3 separate regions of the Homo sapiens genome follow, and regions 1 and 2 are each linked to region 3. Evidence: promoter capture Hi-C in human tissues and cell types (Jung and others, 2019). All regions are on one chromosome and are shown on one strand. The core of a region is centred on a gene start or on the middle of the fragment in contact, and the rest is flanking DNA. Distances in the headings are between cores, read along the strand shown. Region 1 overlaps LINC01620 (long intergenic non-protein coding RNA 1620). Region 2 has its middle 89 kb from the start of JPH2. Region 3 holds the start of FITM2 (fat storage inducing transmembrane protein 2).

The links. Contacts are between HindIII fragments. The study calls those that stand out against the background at their distance.
Region 1: a contact is called between a fragment that was not itself captured here and the fragment with the promoter of FITM2 in region 3, in 4 of the 25 tissues and cell types used here (dorsolateral prefrontal cortex, liver, mesendoderm cells and 1 more).
Region 2: a fragment that was not itself captured here is called in contact with the fragment with the promoter of FITM2 in region 3 in 1 of the 25 tissues and cell types used here (aorta).

The regions. Positions count from the first base shown.
Region 1 is chr20:44,456,047-44,458,746 of GRCh38, reverse strand. All of the region lies in intron 2 of LINC01620 (long intergenic non-protein coding RNA 1620), which reads left to right. Among named protein-coding and RNA genes, the nearest start is that of LINC01430, 6.8 kb to the right of the region's middle. The HindIII fragment of the contact is 8,304 bases long and covers 1-2,700 here.
Region 2 is chr20:44,096,723-44,099,422 of GRCh38, reverse strand. No RefSeq gene overlaps it. Among named protein-coding and RNA genes, the nearest start is that of JPH2, 89 kb to the left of the region's middle. The HindIII fragment of the contact is 5,022 bases long and covers 1-2,700 here.
Region 3 is chr20:44,309,938-44,312,637 of GRCh38, reverse strand. It overlaps FITM2 (fat storage inducing transmembrane protein 2), which reads left to right and starts at 1,436. Exons shown (of 2, transcript NM_001080472.4): 1 at 1,436-1,662. The coding sequence starts at 1,490. RefSeq lists enhancers at 1,384-1,533, 1,130-1,859, 1,824-1,913, 1,860-2,589. The HindIII fragment of the contact is 18,619 bases long and covers 1-2,700 here.

The DNA of each region.
Region 1 (2,700 bases), core at 153-2,652, 150 kb before region 3:
AGAAGCTTATAGACATGGCAATGTGCCTGGAATATCTTGTTTAGTGTGTATATGTGTGTATATATATATGTATAAATGTGTGTATACATATATGTATATATGTGTGTATACACACACACACACACACACACATATATATATACGTATATATACATATATATGTGTATATACATATATAAAATCAGGTCCTAAGACCATAAGCAGGTGTGGTATGTCTGCATGGAGCCCCGTCTGGGGATACACTGAACAACCCTTTAAATAGCACTTATTCTGTGTTGAGTGCTGTGCTAAGCACTCCACAAATGGTTAGCTTGTTTCATGCTCCTAACATTTAATACCCTATGTGTGACAGGTGCTGCCATTATACAGATTTGCAGGTAAAGAAATAGGCAGCAGAGAGGCTACACTCTAGCATGGTTAGGTTGCAAGCCAGCACGTGGCCCTGGGCACTTTGGTCTGAGTCTGTGCTCTTGACCACTTAGCTCTGCTACCTCTGCTAAGAGCATTTTTCTCTGGGTAGTAAAATTTCCACATTTTGAACTTTCTTATTTGTACTTCTCTTTATTGGTTGAGCTTTTGTGATAAGTAGGTTCCGTTTTCATTAAAAAAATTACTGGAGTTCTAATATGGGTTTTTGATGTCTTTAAGAATTAACTATGAATGCCTGCAGGGAAGGCTAGAATCCTAAGAGGGAGTCATTTTTCCAAAGGGACAAACCACTCCGGTCTCTTTTTGTGGCAATGAGACTACTGTCCTTGGTGTTGAGGACCCAGGGGCCAGCCCTGACTTTCTCCCACCCACTGTGATCCTGGGCAAGTCCCTGGTGTCCCTGTCACTACCTTCCAACAGCGAGGCACCTGGCATGGAGTGGCCCTTAATAAATATCCATTGGATAGAGGAAGAATGAACCACTGTCTCCTCTGGGCCTTGCTCCACCTCCACCACCACCAATATCTGCTCCCTGCCTATCCTTGGGGCCTTGAGAATTAACGAATGAATGAAGTCACTGTAAAGTGCTCATTATTTACAGGTTTTTATATTTATTTATTTTGAGACAGAGTCTCACTCTGTGGCCCAGGCTGGAGTGCAATGGCACGATCTTGGTTCACTGCAACCTCCGCCTCCCGGGTTCAAGTGATTCTCCTGCCTCAGCCTCCTGAGTAGCTGGGATTACAGGCACCCGCCACCATGCCCAGCTAATTTTTGTATTTTTAGTAGAGATGGGGTTTCACCATGTCGGCCAGGCTGGTCTTGAACCCTTGACCTCAAGCGATCCACCCACCTTGGCCTCCCAAAGTGCTGGGATTGCAGGTGTGAGCCACCACACCTGGCCTTGTTTGTAGGTTTTTAGAAAGGCAAACAGCAAGCAACATCAGACCCAACCAGATGGATAACTAATGGTGACCCCCCGAGGCTAGGGGAGTGTCCTTCCAAGCGTCCCTGAAACCAATGTGCAGGCTGCATCAGAGACAGGCCCAGGCCTTGCTGCTGGGAGTTTCCTGCCTGTGACCACCCCCACCTCGTGACCCGGCTCCTATCACCCCAGCCTCAGAAAGGCTGGGCCGCAGGGCCATAAATGCCTGCTATCATCAGTCCGTATCTCTAGAGCTGGGCTGTTTGCCAGGAGCCCTGCAATTATTTTTATTACATACAAGTCCTATAATTAATTTTTATCACTGTTTTCTCACAGCCACCTTGCAAGGAGGGCTAGTTTTGCTCTCTTTTGGTTTGGAGTTGGGGGAACTGGAACCCAGGCCTTGAAGGGGTTTCATGGAATTTCCTGGCTTTGCCCAAAGCTCTAGAAAGGGTTAGGGTTTGAATTCATAGACCGTGCTGGGGTCCGAGCAGAGAGTTGGCAGCAAGGTGGGGTGGGTGGTGGAGAATAGCCATTCAGAGTAGACAAAAGCCCTGAGGCTTGGCTGCTTCTTAGCTGTGTGACCTTAGGCAAGTCACTCAAACTCTCTGTGCCTTAGGTCCTTTTGTTTTGTTTTGTCTTGTTTTGTTTTTGAGACGGAGTTTCACTCTTGTTGCCCAGGCAGGAATGCAATGGTGCGATCTCGGCTCACCGCAAACTCTGCCTCCCGGGTTCAAGCGATTCTCCTGCCTCAGCTTCCTGAGTAGCTGGGATTATAGGCATGCACCACTATGCCCAGCTAATTTTGTATTTTTAGTAGAAATGGGGTTTCTCCATGTTTGTCAGGCTGGTCTCTAACTCCTGACCTCAGGTGATCTGCCCGCCTAGGCCTCCCAAAGTGCTGGGATTATAGGTGTGAGCTACCGCGCCCGGCTCCCCCCACCGTTTTTTGTTTTTTTTTATAAGATACATGGTCTTGATCTGTTGCCCAGGCTGAAGTGCAGTGGCCTGATCATAGCTCACTGCAGCCTTGAGCTCCTGGGCTCAAGTGTTCCTCTTGCCTCAACCTCCTGAGCAGCTAGGACTACAGGCAGGCATCACCGAGCCCAGCTAATTCGAAAAATCTTTTTTGGTAGAGATGGAGGTTTTACTATGTTGCCCAGGCTGGTCTTGAACTCCTGGCCACAAGCAATCCTCCTATCTCGGCCTCCCAAAATTCTGAGATTAATAGGCATGAACCACTGTTCCTGGCTGTGCCTTAGGAAGGAATAACAATACTCACCTCATCAGTTAGTACAGATGAGTGCTCAGTAACTGAGGTTCTATTGACTCTTGAGTCGGAAACT
Region 2 (2,700 bases), core at 131-2,630, 210 kb after region 3:
TTTGTATTTTTAGTAAAGACAGGGTTTCACCATGTTGGCCAGGCTGGTCTCGAACTCCTGGCCTCAAGTGATCCGCCCACCTTGGCCTCCCAAAGTACTGGGGTTAAAGGCATGAGCCACCATGCCCAGCTGGTTTTTACTGTTTTAAATGGTTAGGGTGGGAAACAAAGGAAGACTAGTTCATGATGTGAAAAATCATGTAAAATTCACATTTCAGTGTTATGAATAAAGTTCTATTGGCCCACAGCTATGCTCATTTAATGATGTATTTTCAACCTTCATATTGACAGATTGAACTGAGGCAGGAGAATAGGGTTTGGACCAGGCAACTTAAGGCCAATGTGTGCTGACTTCCTAAGGCTGGATCAAAAGGGAAACACTTGGGTCTGGGGGCAGGGACTCTAAGACCAATTAACACCCACTTCCAAAAGCTAAGCCAAAAGGAAAAACTCCATCTTGCCATGCTGGGATAACAAAGAATCAAAGGTTACTCTCCATACAACCTTCCACCATGTCTCAGATGGAAAGGAAAGTGCCTTGGATTGGCTGTGGGCCAAGTGCTAGCCATCCCCCCATCTGCGTAGGGTGCCGATCCACTCCGTCTCCAGATGACTGCGGACCAATTCACTTCAGCTTTAATTAGCCATGGGCCAAATCCTTCATCCAGATAAAGAATGGACATCTTCAGCGGTGCCATTATTCTTCCTACCACACTCTCTTCCACAATCTTGATGGAGTAACTCCAACTCTAGAGCTAGCAGGAAAGTGAAGCTTAGAAGGTGTATTTGATTTTGTTTTTAATCAGCCCTATCCAGTGTAAGGTACATGTGTGAGGAACAAATTCATGCGTTCGAACTCAAGAATGGACTTAGAGACCCAGAGAATAGTGAAAGTGAGACTTTTAATGACGGTCTTGCAAGACTGGGTGTCTAATGAGCAGGCACACCCAGCGCAGTCACAACAAGCAATTCATCCTCTAGTGCACAGGTCTCTCCACCGGTTCCTCAAAGGCTGAGTACTGTGGGGTCACACTCTTCCCGGACTTTGCCTAGTGATGGTGGGTAGGGGCTTTAGGTGTTCTTTTTTAGGGTTGTCTTGTGGCATTTTGTTGCAGCCCACAATGTATTGCAATCCTAGTTAGCTCAGGGGCTTTTTAAGCATTTGTCTTATGACCTAATGACCTAAGTAGCTGGGCAGGCCGATAAGAACTGACAAAGTGAGCTATTTTGCAGGCTAGTAAACTTTCATTTTAGACTAAATGTCTTTGGTTTGAGTGAGGGCAACTAAGCAAGGGAGGAAGGGGAGAAGGGAGAGGCCGACAAGCAGGCATCGGCTATCCAAGCAGGGGCCTAGTATATCTTGTTTCTTCTGTAGTTTGCTGACCTAAGCCAATTCAAGGCACTTTATCTTGGAAATGGACCACTGTATACATTATTTCCTTCACATGGATGTGCTTTGGTCAAGGAATAGGCCGAGGCAGACATCCAGGCCTGCATGACTCAGCAGGGTTGGGGTGCAGGCTCACACCTCCACTTGTTATATAACTGTTTGTGTAAGTTCATACTTGGCTCTACGCCACTATTGTCTGTAAAAGGTATGACTGCCCTGCTGACACTGCACGGGGCTCTGGGGACATGGCTGGGCTTGGCTCTTGGGCATGGCTTGACGTGGTTGGGTGCGCTGGTGCCCAGAGGAAGAGAGAGCCAAAGCTGTCCGTCTTGCAGGTGGGCAGTGGGGAGCCCGGAACCAGCTTGTGCCCAGAGAAAGAGTTAAGCTGCTGACCCTGAAGGCAAGGGAGAGCCGGCAGCACAGCGGTGTATGGGAGCAGCCCACTCAAGCAGCTAAAACAGGGCGGACGGTGTGAGAAAACTACTGATGAGAGAAGAGTGTGTAAGAGCTGTTGATGAGAGAGCTGCTGAATAAAACTACATTTCACCTGCCTATGGCACCCGCCCAGTGTTTTTCACCTATCTGCCCATCCGCCCACTCCCCTTGGACCTCAGTATGGGCCCGAACCTGACCCCAAGCAGGACATTTGGCGTAGTTGTGGACCTGACATCCGGCTCCTGTCCTGTTCCCCAAATCTCCAGGATCCAAAGCCTAGATGATCCTTTATTTTCTATAAAGCAAGACATGAGTTTGGTACTCATTTTTGTAGCCGATAGGGCCCTCAAAAGGAGTCGTTAAAACCCAGAAAACTTCGTAACCAGGCCCGTGAGCTGCTTGCTTGGGCCCACTCCCACCTGTGGAGCGCTTTCCACTTTAATAAATCTCGCTTTCGGAGAATGGCGTGAGCCCAGGAGGCAGAGGTTGCAGTGAGCCAAGATCACACCACTGCACTCCAGCCTGGGCGACAGAGTGAGACTCTGTCTCAAAAATAAATAAATGAATAAAATAAAATATCATTCCCTGCTTTCACTGCTTTGTTGCTTTGTTTCATTCGTTTGTCACTTTGTGTGTTTTGTCCAATTCTTTGTTCAAAACACTGAGGACCCGGACAACTCACACTCAAGGCCCTCCATCTGGTAACAGAATAGTTGTGATAGATACCATGTGGCCCGCAAAGCCTAAAATATTTCCTTTCTGTCCCTTACAGAAAAGGTTTGCCAGTCCCTGGTATAGATAATTCAAAAGCATCCACTGAGCAGACTCCCTCAGGGAGCCCAGGAAGTCCTTGGTCTTAAGGCCTGGTGGAGACAT
Region 3 (2,700 bases), core at 187-2,686:
ATTTTCATCCAACAGGCATAGATAGCTGTTTTGTGTTTCTTTGTGTGCTTTTTAAGACGGTCTCGCTCCGTGGCCCAGGCTGGAGTGCAATGGGACCATCACAGCTCACTGCAACCTCAAATTCCTGGGCTCAAGCAATCCTCCCACCTCAGCCTCCTGAGTAGCTGGGACCACAGGCCTGAGCCACCAAGTCAGCTAGTTTTTAAAATTATTTCTTATAGATACTGAGTCTCACTGTGTTGCCCAGGTGAAAATAAATTTAGAAATTTAAACTTTAAATGTAATAATTGCACCAGGTGAGATGGCTCACTCCTGTAATCTCAGCACTTTGGGAGGTGAAGGCTGGCAGATCACTTGAGGTTAAGATTTGGAGAGGTCAGATCACTTGAGGACAGGAGTTGGTCAGCCTGGCCGACATGGTGAAACCCCATCTCTACTAAAAATACAAAAATTAGCTGGGTGTGGTGGTGCGTGCCTGTAATCCCAGCTACTCGGGAGGCTGAGGCAGGAGAATCGCTTGAACCTGGGAGGCAGAGGCCTGCAGTGAGCTGAGATCGCGCCACTGCATTCCAGCCTGGGCAACAGAGCGAGACTATGTCTCTAAATAAATTAATTATATTAATTAATTAATTTAATAACTGCAGAGCGTGGTGGCTCACACTTGTAATTGCAGCATTTTAGGAAGCCGAGGCAGGAGGATCGCTTGAGCCCAGGAGTTTGAGACCAGCCTCGACAACGAAGCAAAACCCTGTCTCTACAGAAATAAAAATAAAAAAAATTAGCCAGGTGTGGTGGTGCCCGCCTGTGGTCCCAGCTACTCGGGAGGCTGAGGTGGGAGTATTGCTTGAGACCAGAAATTTGAGGTTGCGGTGAGCTGCGACGGTGCCATTGCACTCCAGCCTGGGCGACAGAGAGGGACCCCCCCCCAACTAACTAATAAATAAATAAATACAATAATTATTCCTAAGGAAACTTCATCTCATGTCCCTCTACGTGTGCCAACGTAATGAACCCCTGAGCTCATAAACTAGCTTTTGGGAAAGGTTGATCTCCTCTTGTCTCTCGCATTTTACAGATGAGAAAACTAAGACTCAGATGGCAGAGGTGTCTCCGAGGCTCCAAGAAAGATCAAATGATGCTGTGACTACTGCTCCAATTCTCCAGGGCTACATTTATCCTCTTCCAGCCTCCAGCAAATACTTTCACAAGCGCTTTTTCCCAGACCAGAGCAAGACGCGGAGGCTCGGGGAGAGGAGGCGGCCAGGAGAGCGCAGAGGAGACGAGCGAGTTCGGGGACCGTCACGCGCCAGAGGCAGCAGCGGCCACGAGGGGGAGCGCGCGGGCTCCGGAGCCCAAGCACGCCTCAAGCTGTGGGACTCGCGGGCAGTGCGCATGCGCTCGAAGGGAGGTGGAGGCGCAGGTCCGGGCGAAGGGCGATACGGTGGCCGAGAGGGCACGGAGAGGAGGACGGTGGCTGACGAGATCCGGCATGGAGCATCTGGAGCGCTGCGAGTGGTTGTTGCGGGGGACGCTGGTGCGGGCGGCCGTGCGGCGCTACCTGCCCTGGGCCCTGGTGGCCTCCATGCTGGCGGGCTCCCTCCTCAAGGAGTTGTCCCCGTTGCCCGAGAGCTACCTCAGCAACAAGCGCAACGTCCTCAACGTGTGAGTGCACCCCGGTCCTCCGCTGTCCCCGCCCGAGCCGGCCCGCTGTCGCCTCGCCCAGAGAAGCCGGTGCTAGCTGCCGTGGTGGACGAGTCATTGGAGGGGAGGTCCTCCTCCTAGCCGTGACAGCAGCATCTGCACGCGTGTCACGCCTGGGAGGCCCCGGGGTAGCTGGTGTCACTAGCAGTTAGTGTTTGCAGACCCACTTTGGGCAGCATGAGCTTGACTGGGCAGGTGGTGACAAGCGGGGTCGTGTGTGTCTCTGTATATGTAGGGGTGTGGAATGGGGTGGGGATGAACCAGCCCCTGTCACCACTCCCCCGCCTCCCCTTGGAGTTAGGAGCTGACCCCTGCCCTGTTTGGGAGATGCCATCTCACCTCTGTCCTGCCTGCCTGTGGCAGACCCCGCGCAGACCCCACCCTGCGTCAGATCAGATCCCTCCAGCGCGTGACAGAATCCCTTTACGACCTGTGGAAGAGCCTCGCCCCAGCCTGTGACAGGCAGAGCCCCCGCCTGTGAGATACTCACAGAGGGCTGGAACCCCCTAGTCTGTGCCCTTTCCCCTGGATCTCCTTGGATCATCTCAGCCACTCAGAATGCATGGCAGTGGCCCAGAAAAGCAATCCCAGCTGGGCGCTTTGAGACATCTCCTTAACTCCACCCATCCACTCCTTTGCTTGCTTACTTGCTTTTTTCAAAACTCCCGGTTAGTAAGTTTATTGCACAAAAACTCTGTTGCGGTCATAAAGGGAAACTCTGAAAGATAAAACTGCTCCCTTGATGTGAGCCTAAGTGTTTTCCAGAATAAGTGTCTCTGGCGTGTCCTGAAAGTCAGCCCAACTTTGGTTATCTGCTTAAAACCCTGGTTCCTTTCACAGGCAGCTTCCTCAAATGCCTGACGGGTCTTGGCTCTGGCAAGATCTTCCTTATCAGTCCCAGTGAAGATTTTAGTGACAGGCCTGGGGGTGGTGCCTGAGAATCCATTGGAACCTAGAAAAAAGTCCTTCTGTCCTTGGTCCACCTTCCTTCCTCACCCA